Linked DNA regions of Homo sapiens: regions 1 and 3 are each linked to region 2. The links are contacts of gene promoters, found by promoter capture Hi-C in human tissues and cell types (Jung and others, 2019). All regions are on one chromosome and are shown on one strand. The core of a region is centred on a gene start or on the middle of the fragment in contact, and the rest is flanking DNA. Distances in the headings are between cores, read along the strand shown.

What was found. The method cuts DNA at HindIII sites, captures the fragments that hold promoters and counts their contacts. A contact is called where the count stands out against the background at its distance.
Region 1: a contact is called between a fragment that was not itself captured here and the fragment with the promoter of BIK in region 2, in 3 of the 25 tissues and cell types used here (IMR-90 fibroblasts, small bowel and stomach).
Region 3: a fragment that was not itself captured here is called in contact with the fragment with the promoter of BIK in region 2 in 1 of the 25 tissues and cell types used here (mesenchymal stem cells).

The regions. Positions count from the first base shown.
Region 1 is chr22:42,958,171-42,962,403 of GRCh38, reverse strand. All of the region lies in intron 1 of PACSIN2 (protein kinase C and casein kinase substrate in neurons 2), which reads left to right. Among named protein-coding and RNA genes, the nearest start is that of PACSIN2, 55 kb to the left of the region's middle. RefSeq lists an enhancer at 2,407-2,701. The HindIII fragment of the contact is 6,006 bases long and covers 1-4,233 here.
Region 2 is chr22:43,108,972-43,113,766 of GRCh38, reverse strand. BIK (BCL2 interacting killer) reads right to left here and starts at 3,017. Exons shown (of 5, transcript NM_001197.5): 1 at 2,964-3,017. RefSeq lists silencers at 2,148-2,367, 2,898-3,067 and an enhancer at 2,392-2,950. The HindIII fragment of the contact is 22,290 bases long and covers 1-3,503 here.
Region 3 is chr22:42,895,489-42,900,064 of GRCh38, reverse strand. All of the region lies in intron 2 of PACSIN2 (protein kinase C and casein kinase substrate in neurons 2), which reads left to right. Among named protein-coding and RNA genes, the nearest start is that of ARFGAP3, 41 kb to the right of the region's middle. RefSeq lists enhancers at 952-1,726, 1,727-2,503. The HindIII fragment of the contact is 4,261 bases long and covers 198-4,458 here.

The DNA of each region.
Region 1 (4,233 bases), core at 601-3,100, 150 kb after region 2:
TTAGCAAGTTGCATAACCTCTCATCTGGGAAATGAAGATAACAATGCTTACCCCCAAAGAGCTATTTTCATGATTAGCCAGAAATAAAGTAAGTGCTGTGTAAATGTTTATTGAGCAGCCTGTGTTTGTTGGATTTAAAAGAAGAGAGTGAGTCTTTTAAACAAAAAGCCCTCCCATAACCAGCAGCCCTAAGTGGGGCTCTGGGACAAAAAAAAAAAAAGTTTTCTGGTATCCTGGCTTGGGGGAGGGAACAGGTAGACAATTTTTGTATTTTTTAGTACAGACGGGGTTTCACCATGTTGGCCAGGCTGGTCTCAAACTTGCTTCCCCAGAACTCAGGCGCTGCTTCTGTCTTAGTGGAGTGAGTGCTTGCCAGCTGTGGCGGGCGTGGCACTCTGGTGTTCATCTTCTGTGATGGTGCCGTGGATTTAACTAAGCCAACCACAGGATATAGTGAAATATGTGTTGACTTCTCTGCTTTTTTGGTGACGGGCTGTGTGGGGAGGGGTGGTAAATAATTTCTCAAGTAGTGTAAATTATTATCATATGTCAAGTAATAGAGTCTCATGTTATGTGGTCTTTGCTTTTATTGGTATTTTTCCATTAAGGAATTTCTTTTTCTCTTTTTTTTGAGACAGGATCTCGCTCTGTCACCCAGGCTAGAGTGCAGTGACGTGATCTCAGCTCACTGCAACCTCTGCTCCCTGGGGTCAAGCGATTCTCGTGCCTCAGCCTCCTGAGTAGCTGGGATTACAGGCATGTGCCACTACACCTGGCCAATTTTTGTATTTTTTAGTAGAGATGAGGTTTCACCATATTGGCTAGGCTGGTCTCAAACTCCTGGCTTCAAGCAATCCATTTGCCTCAGCCTACCAAAGTGCTGGGACTACAAGTGTGAGCCACCGGCCCAGCCTAAGGAATTTCTAAACACAAGATTTTTTTTTTTTTTTTTTTTTAATTGATCATTCTTGGGTGTTTCTCACAGAGGGGGATTTGGCAGGGTCATAGGACAATAGTGGAGGGAAGGTCAACAGATAAACAAGTGAACAAAGGTCTCTGGTTTTCCTAGGCAGAGGACCCTGCGGCCTTCCGCAGTGTTTGTCTAAACACAAGATTTTCAAAAGAGATTTTTAACCTACTTCGTTTTGTGTTATAAGGTAAGACTAGATGGCTGTTTTTAACTGAACATTTTTGAATGAATATGAGTAGCAAGAACACTGGTAAATAGTGTATATCCACTTAGCACAGTTTCCCCTTGCAGTATGTTCTTTTGCCAATTACGTATTTTCCCATCCCTACATACACCCGCTTGGGCCATGTTGAAAGGAGGAACCGCCCTGAACTGGCCCTGCCCTGGCCATTACCACTTAGATCCTGGCTTGCCAAGGGGAATGGGGGAGTGTGCATGTGTATCTTCTAGGAGGGCACCTAGCAGAAATTGATCCCTTGAAATATTTGTTTCCTGTCTGTTTTTGCAGGTTGGTTTCCATATCTACTCTTTCCTGTAGTGTCTGTATTTTTTGTTACTGTATGAGATTTTAAAAAGTGTTATTGAATAATATGCATACCTAAAGTGCACAGATCTCAAGTGTACATATCAGTGAATTTTCACAAGCCCAGCACACCCATAGCCAGTTTAAGAGCCACAGCACAGCTCCAAAACCCTCCTGGCACCCCTTCCTGCCTGCCTCCTCTTTCTCTTCCCTGTCCCGGCTTCGAAGGGTGTAGATTAGTTACGCCTTTTCTTGTGCTGGATCCAAAGGGAATCGTACAGCATGTATTCTTGTAGGCACAAGCATTTTAAAATCTTTCTCTCCTCACCTAAAGCTTTATTGTTTTTTTCTTCACTTTAAATTCTTTGTAAAAATTGAAGAAGCGAGGTGTTTTTATTTCCATGTAATCACAGTTGCGTATTTGAGTGTCCTAGTTCTTAGGAGACAGTCGTGCTGCTGAGAGACCATGGGGTCACCTGCCTGTCTCCAGGGGACTCTGTGTCCCCAGTCCTGTCTCCTGCATGAGGCTTCCTGTTCATCTGCTGACAGGCATTGCCTTGTTGTGTGTAGTCACAGAAGGAAGTTGACTTCCACATGTAGGGACAGTGTAAGATTATCCTGTGCAAGCAAGTCCCTGTCCCACTGACTGCTGTGACGCCCCTCAGATGCAGAGAGAGCATGCTGTCTTTTTTCTCTTGTAAGCAGGAGGATCCCAAATACAAGAAGATATTAGAAGACTCATGTATGGTGTAAGTTAGTTTGTATATAATTTGATTTTTTGTGTGTTGGGGAGGGGGTAGTATGAATTTTGTTCTCAGACCTCTTCTCCCTGATTTTCCGTGGAAATACTGAAATTTCTCTTTGGCCACTTTCTGAAAAGAGAGCTCTTCTGTGATGGCCACAGCAGGCAGGAGCGTGCAGTCTGGGAACCTGGGACTGTACAGCGAATGCAGCAGTGTATGGGAATGACCTTATCTCGGCAGCCAACAGGAAATGATGAAATGTGCTGGGAGAATTCAGCTGAGAGACAGAGGTCAGACATGCCAGCAGGGTTGGAAAGAGGCAGGTACGGAAGCTGAGCTGCAGAGTTAGCCGGCATCTGACAGAAAAATGTGAGTGTGCTGTGGAAGGCTTGCATTTCCTTTAAGGTAGACCTCTTTGAAAGTAGAATTTTCACGGAATTGTTTTCTTTCTCACTGAGTGACTGATTTAACAGAACTCTCACCTTCTATGCAAGCGCACCTAGTTTTAGAGCTCCGTGACGGCAATGTTCAATTAGTTCATTATTAACTGAGCAATGCAGAATGCTTTATCCAGGGTGCTTGGAGAAGATGTCAGAGTAAGTGTTTGATTTTCTTGGAGAATAGATTTCGGCTTAAACAAATGAAGGATTGTGTTTTGTAATTTTTGACTCTGGTTTTAGAACATACGTGCGTGTTTCCTTTCAAAATAGATGCAATAACTTTGCACCTTTGCTTTGGCATGTTTTAGAGTAGCTGACATACTTTAGCTGTATTTTTTTCTTACCGAGTAGCTAAATGAGTTACTTGAGTTAGCTGTTAATAGAGGGCTTTTCCCCCTACTTTAAGGCGTTAATGTTTATTACATGCTGCCATTTTCTTTCTTTACAGCCAAATCTAATCTACAAACACATAAGTGGGACTTGAGAGAGAAAGCAAATTATCTTTTCCAGGAGACTGTAATTGCTGTTTCATGACTGTTTACTGCAGAGTCTCTGATCACCTGCCACCGCTCCAGGACCCCTCCCGACCACCTTCCCATCCTCCCCCTCAGTTCTTCTCATTTCTCATCCCAGCTGGACCCTGTGCCCTCGTCCCCCTCTGAGGGCTGTCACTAGACACTGTTTATATTTTTGTCGGGTAACAAAATGTAAAAGTCTTATTGTTTTAATAACTGAGCAGCCTTATGTACGTATTCAATTGTTTCTTAGAAGTCATATTCTGGAATTTTTGAAAAACAGTGGCTCCCCTTTATTGCTGTGGTGCTGTAATTCTAATTAGATTTTTAAAATCCTGATACTTAAGTGACCCATCACTCAGTGAATTATACTTACTGGATTACTGATTGCCATTAAAAAGGCAGCATCCTCTCTCCGTCCTCCAGAAAATACTGTGCTGGTGCAGCCTGTGCCTCACAGAAAAACATGCTTTCTTGTTAGGATGTTACCTACTGTGAAGTGTGTGTTTCAAATACTTTTAAGATTGCATAGGAAAGGTTTCTAGAAACCCCCAAGGTATATAGTATGTCTGTCCGACCTTAATCGGGCCCATCAGTTTTGTCTTTGCTCTTGTAGCTCTGAATATCTCTTTCTTCAGATCCCTTCCTTCTTGTCAGTAAAACATCCTACTGAATTCTGCATGAATTTTAAATGCTGTATTTATGAAAACAGCAAAGAGGTTTCATAACTTCAAACCAAAGCATTTTTACAGGTATGAGATTTATGCCAATAAGTAAAAATACGCCTTCCTTTTTTCTTTTTAAACAGTGTTAGTCCTTTGAGACCCGTTTGCCCACCCACACAATTCTGTTATTCATTTGGTGGCATAATGCAGAAGGTGGGAACGCAATATTTAGAGCTGTAATGGCTCTTGGACTTAATATTCCAGGATCCTCACTTTACCAAAGGAATTGGGATCCAGAGGTGACGACTTGTCCAAGGTCACTCGTCTCGTTGGTAGCCGAGTGAGTCTGAAACCCTGGTCATGAGACTCATTACTCT
Region 2 (4,795 bases), core at 1,768-4,267:
TAATAGGTTCACTAAAAACAGGATGCTTTCCAGGGAGAGGGGAAAATACCACCAGCAGTGGTGTCAGCTTCAAGACTCACTGGCCAATCAAGCCCTTCCTCAATTACATCCTTCCGTTGAGACGGGATCAGAAATGGGGGAAAAAAAAAGTACACGGTTATGAGTAGTCTCTGGTTTATCTGCAGCTCTGTGACACAAGACGTAATTTTTTTTTTTTTGAGATGGAGTCTCACGTTAGCCCAGGCTGAGTGCAGTGGCACCATCTCTGCTCACTGCAATCTCCGCCTCCTGGGTTCAAGCAATTCTCCCGCCTTAGCCTCCCAAAGTGCTGGGATTACAGGCAAGTCAAATGTGTAAGAATCTTGAGCCGGGTGAGGTGGCTCACGCCTGTATTCCCAGCCATTGCACTCCAGCCTGGGCAACAAGAGCGAAACTCCGTCTCAAAAAAACAAACAAACTTACAATAACTAACATGTATGCAGCCTCTCTATCCAGCCATAGAGTACCCAAGCTGTAACAGACACTGGGGATCTACCATTTGATGCTTTTTTAAATTTTCTTTTGACAGAGAGTCTCCCTATGTGGCCCAGGCTGGAGTGCCATGGTGTGATCTCCGCTCAGTGCAACCTCTGCCTCCCAGATTCAAGCAGTTCTCCTGCCTCAGCCTCCCAAGTAGCTGGGATTACAGACACACGCCACCACGACCGGCTAATTTTTGCATTTTTAAAAGAGACTGGTTTTGCCATGTTGGCCAGGCTCGTCTCACAACTCCTGACCTCAGGTGATCCATCTCCCTCGGCCTCCCAAAGTGCTAGGATTACAAATGTGAGCCACCATGCCCAGCCTAATGCTCCTTTTTTTGAGACAGGGTCTCACTCTGTCTCCCAGGCTAGAGTGCAGTGGCATGATCAGGGTTCACTGCAGCCTCAACCCCTCCAAGCTCAGGTAGGCCTCTGAACTCAGCCTCCTGCGTAGCTAGGACCAGAGGCACATGCCACCATGCCCGGTTAATTTTTTGTATTTTTGGTAGAGACAGGGTTTTACCATGTTACCCAGTCTGGTCTAGCCCAGTCTAGTCTCCTGAGCTCAAGCAATCCTCCTGCCTCAGCCTCCCAAAGTGCTAGGATTACAGGCACGAGTCAAATGTGTGAGAATCTTAGTCTTAACATCCTTAAGACAATTAAAAAAAAAAAAAGGGCCAGGCATAGGGGCTCACGTCTGTAATCCCAGCACCTTGGGAGGCTGAGGCAGGAGTATTTAAACACTCAAGCCGGGCGGGGTGGGTCACACCTGTAATCCCAGCACTTTGGGAGGCTGAGGCGGGTGGATCGCCTGAGGTCAGGAGTTCGAGACTAGCTTGGCCAACATGGTGAAACCCCATCTCTACTAAAAATACAAAAAATTAGCTGGGCCTCGTGGTAGGCGCCTGTAATCCCAGCTACTAGGAGGCTGAGGCAGGAGAACCGTTTGAACCCAGGAGGCCGAGGTTGCAGTTAGCCGAGACGGCGCCATTGCACTCCAGCCTGGGCAACAAGAGCGAAGCTCTGTTTCAAAAAAAAACAAAAAGAAACAAAAAACACCCAAACTGTGCCATTCCTGAGAACTTATTCCAAAGGCGTGCCCAAATTAAGTAGAAATCGGGGTGAGTCTTAACTCCAGGGAGGCTACTAACTTGAGAGGGGCTTTCACCTGGCCAGAAACCTCAGGGATACATTTTGCAGAGTGAACAGAACAAACTGAGGTTCAGAGAGATGGAGTGGCCCTTCCGAGGCCACAGGGCTGGAGAGTGGAAAGAGGTTTTGGCTTGGGTTCCATAAAGGGCCCTTGGCTTCTAGCTAGACAACCCTGGCATTTCTGTGCCTCCTGGGACTGAAATCTCTGTTTCTCCACCTGGAAGATGAGGCCTCCTGCTCCCAGGGGCAGACAGATGTTAAGAACTTCCCGGCGCTAGTGCCCACCAGACTGCGCTCCTCCTAATGCGGGGACATGAGGCTGACACCAATGCTCCCTGGGAAGCTCGGGCTCCCAGACCACAGTAAACACTGCGTTAAAACAGCAACAAAAATGTTACAATAGTAAGAGCTACAACAGTAACATCAACAACCACGTCCTACCCCACGAGTGGCTCATTCTAGCAAAATTGACAATGAAGGGCTTGAAAGCGATCGCATTTAGGAGGCCAGAGCCCAGACGACGACCAGCTCCGAACCCCACAAGCCTTGTCGTGACCGCGCCCCGCAGGCGGGGGGCCCCCTCGCGGGTCACCCGCAGGGGCGCACCTCCAATTTACCAAACAAGGTCGCATGCCCCAGCCGGGCTCTAGTCCCCGCCCAGTCTGGGGCGCACCTGTGCAGGGCGCGTGGGCAAGCGAGGGCGGGCGGCTGCGCGCCGCTCCGTGTGCACGTTCCTGTTCCGGACTTTCTGGGCGTCCCGTTACGAAGCCTTTCCTCGGCCCTTCCTCAGGTGCGCAGCGCCTCCGGGAGCCGGTCCCGGCGGCACCGGGCACGACGCCATCTTCCCTCTTTTAAGGGCACCGGGGCTGTGCGGCCGCGGCCGTGGGCTGGCGTTGCCGCGCTACGGTCTGGCCGGGTCCGCACGACCCCAGAGTTCGGAGCCGGGTGCCCGGAAGCCGCACTGGAGGACTGTGCGGCGGCGATGGGGCGTCCAGCCGTCGCGGCGAGACGCAGAGGGACCACCCCATTGCACAGGCGCGGAGACTGAGGCCCGCAGGGGCCGCGCCTGGCACGATCGCCCGTCGGGGACCTGGAGCCCCGGACAGAGAGGGTACGTTTCGGAGCCGGAGTCCCGAGACGTCGCCCCGCCAGCGACTTGCTGGAGCGGTAAAACCTGGGCACGGCTCCCCACACTTCCAGCCGCTCGGCACCCGGGCCGCGGCCTGGGCGCTAACCGCCGGGCTCGAGCTGGGCGGAGCAGCGGGCGGCAGCAGGGTCGGGGGCACTCACCTGGCGGCGGCGATGCTGGCAGCGTCTGTAAGCCACCCGGGAGGCTTCGTGTCTGCGGCCCGGCTGCCGGCGCGGGACCTAATAGGCCCGGGCGCCCCGCCCCTCCCGCCCCGCCCGGGTCCCGCCCCTCCCCGGGAGCGGCCTCTCGCACCCCGAGCGCGGAATCCCGGACTGGGGTCTGAATGGCATTGGCAACAGAACCGCTACAAGTGCAGCCCGTTGGCTTGTTTACAGCCTCTCTGCCCCCTGCTGTTCTGCAAGCTTGTTTTGTCCCGTGCGTCGCTGTTTCCCCTGCGCCCAGCACGGGCGTGCACTCAGGGGTTTCCATCAATATCGGGGGGATCGATCCATTGACAGAATCTGGCCCTTTACACGGATGGCCTCCGTTCGAGCTCAAAGTACTCCTCGGTGCTTTTTTTCACGATCATTTTACCCACGTGGAAACCGAGGCTCCAAGAGGACGAAATGACTTAAATGACAGCGTGAAGCCAGCGTTCAAAGACGTGTGCTCCTTAGGCTGGCAGCTTTGGGATTTAGGTGTTTTAAAGCCTATTTCACAAATATGAAAACCGAGGTTCACATTTGGTTAGCAGCAGCATCCAGTGATCCATACCCGAAGCCAGGGGGCTGCCCCTCCACTGCCGCCCGTCCGCAGCCTTCCAGCTGCATGACACACCCACTGCCTTCCCCCTCCCGTCGGGGCTCCGGGTCCGCGAGAGGCGGGCGGGACTGGGAGGGATTGGGGGCAGGGGGCTCACGTGCAGACCTGGTGAGACGGACCCCACAGCGCCTGGCGGGGCGAACAGAGAAATCAGAAAGCTTCCAGGCGGGGTGGGCGGGTGGGCAGCCTGCTACGCGGGGATGGGTAGGACCTAACTCCAGCCCTGGGGTATATTGGGGGTGGGAGAAGGCAGAGCGCTCCTGGAATAACAAAGTAACAATTGTCCTGGGCACGGCAAAGCTTGTTTACTTCTGTCTTGATCCCCTCAGAGATTAGGGGAGGGGCAGGGACAGGGGTTCCCCTCCCCCAGCTCTGTCGTTTGCTACCTGTTGGGTACCCTCACTCTGTTCTTCCCACCTCTAGGGTAATTACTTCCCCTTCAATGTTCTCATCTGTGAAATGGACAACAGCACCTACCAAGAGCTGGGCTGTTGGGAGGAACAGAGGAGGTAAAGTGTGATAAAGTCTTCAGAGCCCCTCCCGCCTTCCGGGCTCTGGACCTTCTTTGCTTTTGTGGGGTTTTTTTGTTTGTTTTTGTTTTTGTTTTTTTGAGACAGAGTCTAGCCCTGTTGCCCAGGCTGGAGTGCAGTGGCACAATCTTGGCTCACTGCAACGTCTGTCTCCCAGGTTGAAGCAATCCTCCCGCCTCAGCCCCCCTAGTAGCTGGATTACAGGCGTGTGCCACCATGCCCGGCTAGTTTTTGTATTTTTAGTAGAGACGGGGTTTTGCCATATTGGCCAGGCTGGTCTTGAACTCCTGACACCAGGTGATCCACCGGCCTCGGGCTCCCAAAGTGCTGGGATTACAGGCGTGAGCCACCACTCCCGGCCCTGTAGTCTTTTCTTCTAGGGCCTCCAAACTACATCAACCCCTACAAAGCAGCTCGCCCTGACTGTGGCTAACAGCCACAGAGTGCCTTACAGTCAGGAGCAGGGAACCCTTCATAATGGGGGCTTCCCTCTGAATGCATTTTGCAGATGAAAAAATTGAGACTCAGGGAGGTAAAGCAATGACACGGGGTCTCATGGGTCCGAAAGACCTGATATATGTGAGATGCTTGCAGAGGGGTCTTAAGGCTGGAGGCACAGTGCCAGGTATGTAGGAGATGTT
Region 3 (4,576 bases), core at 1,079-3,578, 210 kb after region 2:
GGAGCCAAGACTTCACAGAGAGCTGAGATGGGGGCAGGTAGGAGGGGGACTCGCTCATCAATAACCGTTCCTGTCTCTATTTCTCCACCTGCAGTTGATACCTAGGCCCCCTCCCCATTTCTAATGTTACAGCTTTTGTTAGCATCTGCTCTCATAAACTTCGCACCCCTACTTCATGTGCACGTATTCTTAATTGATGTAAATGGCATCATGCCCCACATCATTCTGTTTCTGTTCTGGGTCAGTGTGTCGGCGTAGTCGCGCACATCCTTCCTCCCGCTGCACTGCTGGGCCCCGTGCTTACCTGTGCATTCCCCAGGGAGAGGCCCCCTACCTGTCCTGGGACCAAAGGGAACACTTCTATGGGAATCTAAGCCCAGAATGAAGCTGCTGGGTCATCGTAGGGCACTTGCATGCTTTATGATTTAATGACTGCCTAGTTGTGCACAGAGGCCTGCCCAGTCTGTTTCCACCAGTATATCCAGTAAAGGGTGCTGTACACCCACCTCTGCCCACACTTGGCCTTTCCCACTCTCTGGTGGTTGCCAGTCCACAGGCGTAGAGCTGCCTTGCTGTTCTCAGGCACATCCCTCTGGGCACCCACATACAGAGGTGTCTCTGTGTGCTCTGCCTGCTGTCATCCCAGCTACTCGGGAGGCCGAGGCAGGAAAATCGCTTAAACCCGGGAGGCAGAGGTTGCAAGTGAGCCGAGATGGCACCACTGCGCTTCAGCTTGGGCAACAGAGCTAGACTCCGTCTCAAAAAAAAAGAAAAAGAAAAATTTTGTTTAAGGAGCCATGCCGTAAGTCACAAAGGTATTCGCGTTCATTTTCTTCTGGTCATGTTATGGTTTTACCTCACATTTGTATGGGGTGCCTGCTGTGCGGTAGACCCTGTGGAAAGCAATGGAGAAAGAGTGGTGGATTAGGAAGACACAGGTCCACACCCTCTTAGGGCCCAGAGTCTGAAGGTATTAGGGGTTGGGAGCACCACAGAGCTTGGCATGGTCCTGTGTCTGCACAGCAGACCTTCTCCAGCGTCCTTGTGAAAGGCACCTCTGGACTGTTTACAACAGATGCATGCAGGATGGAGGAGGAGCTGACGTGGCCTCTTTGGATAGTCCCCCCAGCACGCCTGTGACAATAAGCTGCTGGGTTTCAGGTAGAGCCCCTTTCTCTGCTCCTGATTGCACGGATGTTTCTGCACAGGGATGGTTGAGATTCCAGCTGCCACCTCATCCTAGCTGACTTTAAAACTGAGGCTTGGCTGACATTGGGTTCTCAGAGGAACGATTAGAAGCCTGGCTCACTGAGAGGGAGTGAGTGCAGCCTGGAGGAGGGCAGGCGGCAGGGCGAGTCCTGGGCTCGGGGAAGGGCATGGGGAAGGGAGTGGATTCCCTGGAGGCAGAGCTTGATTGTGAGGGATGTGGCCCCCAAGGTCCATCCCTGGGAGGCAGGAGAGCGGCCTCCGGAGGACCCTAGAAAGGAGGTTCTCAGCCGGGCACAGTGGCTCACGCCTGTAATCCCAGCACTTTGGGAGGCTGAGGTGGGCAGATCACCTGAGTTCGGGAGTTTGAGACCAGCCTGACCAACATGCAGAAAACCCGTCTCTACTAAAAATACAAAATTAGCTGGGCGTGGTGGCGCATGTCTGTAATCCCAGCTACTCGTGAGGCTGAGGCAAGAGAATCGCTTGAACCAAGGAGGCAGAGGTTGTGGTGAGCCGAGATCGCACCATTGCACTCCAGCCTGGACAACAAGAGCGAAACTGTCTCAAAAAAAAAAAAAGAAAAGGAAGGAGGTTCTCTTTCCCAAGGTGGGCACAGCCTGGAGAAGGCAGGGGTGCTGTATGCAGAGAAACCTGTCTGGGAGCCAGGGATTCCCACGACCTTTGTCCCCGCATCCTCCACCTGGAGGATGGGCAGCTCCCTTTTTTGGCTCGCATGCCCTGGGTTCCACTGAGCAGCCCCATTCTCTGGAGGCTGCTCTCAATTCTTCCTTCCAGGATGTCCCCACCCCCGCCAGCCTTCTGAGCCCCACCAGTCCCCAAGCCTGACACCCTTCAGGATGCAGGCCTAGCCTTCCCAGTTTCTCAGCATCTGCCCTCCCTCATTGCCATTTGCTCCCTGTGTTCTGTGTTCCATTCCCAGCTGACTTCTCTCAGGGCCCCAGGGTTGCCATGTGGACACACCTTCCTTTTGCCAGTGCTGTTCCCTGTGCCTGGAATTATTTTCCTGGCCTCACCTTTAATCTGGCCAGCCTCCTACCTGTCCTTGAAGATGCCCTTTGGATATTGCGTTCAGGATACCTCTCACCCCCTCCTCCTAGTGCCCCAGTTCCAGTGCCCTGTGCCCAAGCACTGAGTCCCTCAGTAGGTACATGCTTGGCCCTCCGTCTGCCAGGCAGTCCCTCAGGGGAGTGAAGGGATGTCCAGGCACATGTATGCTGAGCATTTGTCTTTGGTAGCTTAGTTTCTGAGTGGAGTGAGCCTGAATTTAGAGGAAGTTAGGAACATAGCTTCATACCTGGTTCAAAAATGAGGATTTTGTGAATGAAGCAATTAATATGTTTGGAAGAAAGCATGCTTATATTCAGTTTCTACCTAAAGTTTTCTGCCATTTGGCTATCCCAAAACAACCTAATGTTTTGAAGAAGTAGAAGAGAGGTTTTTAATTACAAAACTGATAGAGCAGAAATAGTTAACTATATATGTGCTGATTTTAATGTATGATCGATTTGTCAAATATTTGAAAATTAATTTTCTTGCATTGTAAAAACTAGTCATTATTATACGTTTGATTTTTTAAAAAATATATTAAAAAGGGAACAGGCCAGGCGCTGTGGCTTATACATGTAATCCCAACACTTTGGGAGGCCAAGGTGGGAGGATCGCTTGAGCCCAGGAATTCAAGACCAGCCTAGGCAACACGGCAAAACCCTGTCTCTGCAAAAAATACAAAAATTAGCCAGGTGTGGTGGTGCGTACCTGTAGTTCCAGCTACTCTGGAGGCTGAGGTGGGAGGATCACTTGAGCCTGGGAGGTTAAGGCCACAGTGAGCCATGATTGTGGCACTGCACTCTAGCCTGGGCAACAAAGCAAGACCCTGTCTCAAAAAGAAAAAAAAGGAACAAACTTTACTCAAGAAGGCATACAGATGGCAAATAGTCATAAGAAAAGATTTTCAGTATTATTAGACTTTAGAAAGATGCAAATTAAAATCACAATGCAATATTGCTACACTAAGTAGAATGGCTAAAAATAACAAAACAGAACAAAACACCCTGGCAATACTAAGTGCTGGGAGCATGCAGGACAGGGAAGTCTCATACGTTGCTGATGGCAGTGCACAGCTGTCCAGTCACTTTGGGTAGCAGTTCGGCAGTTTTGTTAAACGTACAGTTAACATTTCCATTCCTAGGTATTCACCGAAGAGTCATGGAAGCTTATGTCCCCACAAAAGACCAATAGATGAACGTTATAGCTTCTTTATTCATAATTCCCCCAAACTGAAAATGACCCAAGCAACCTTCAGCAGGAAGAATATGGATAAACCAAAGAGTGGTATAACTACCCAATCGAATACTACTTAGCAGTAAGAAAGAGTGAACTTCTGATAGTGGTATACCTACACAGTCGAATACTACTTAGCAGTAAGAAAGAGTGAACTTCTGATAGTGGCATAACTACACAATCGAATACTACTTAGCAGTAAGAAAGAGTGACCTTCTGACGTAGATAGCAACATGGATCAGTCTCAGAAACATTATGGTGGGTGACAGAAGCCAGTCTCAAAAGCCAGGCTGCATACTGTGTATTCCATATATCCTTGCCATCCTGGAAAAGGGGCAAAAATCATGTCTGTGGTTGCTGGGGGCTGTATGGGGAGGGGATGGGCTGCAAGGGGGCACAAAGGCACTTCATGAGAGATGGAAGTGTCCTGTTCCTTGCTGTGGAGGTGGTAGACAGTGGTATATGTTTGTCCACATTCAGATCTAAGTGTACCCTGTAGTGGGCAGTTTTGCCTGTGTGTAGATTCCATCTCGACCTAGAGAAGCAGCCAGCAGTAGCTCTGCTCCTGGGACGACTGCAGTGCTTTGCCCAGGGAAGTGGAAAGGCCACATTGCTCTGTCCCTGGTGGTTTATGGCGATAGAGACTTCCAGTGATGGCCTTCACCGGCCACCACACAACCGTTTCATTAAAGGGACAGCAGGGCCGATGTTGCTGGGGTGCCTCGGTCCCAACTGTTTGGCATACTGCCCTTCTCCCGTTGGCTCTGTGCTCAGCCAACTTGCCTCTTGTCCCCAGCAGTGGTCACAGGACCAGCACAGGCTCCTCTGCAGCCTCTAGGACCAACTGGGAGCTTATTTGGAAACCTGAAATGTGTACTTACGGAAACACTCTTCCTGTATTCATCACGGATTTCCACATTTCAAGAGTTGTCATGTAAATGTGTATTTGCAGCTCCTGTGTGTGCCGATGGGTGGTACCAACATGTGACTTGTTAAGAAATATCCTTTTCTTTTCCCTAAACCTTTAACCAGTGGTTCTGAAAATCACAGAGATAAGCAGGTTTCA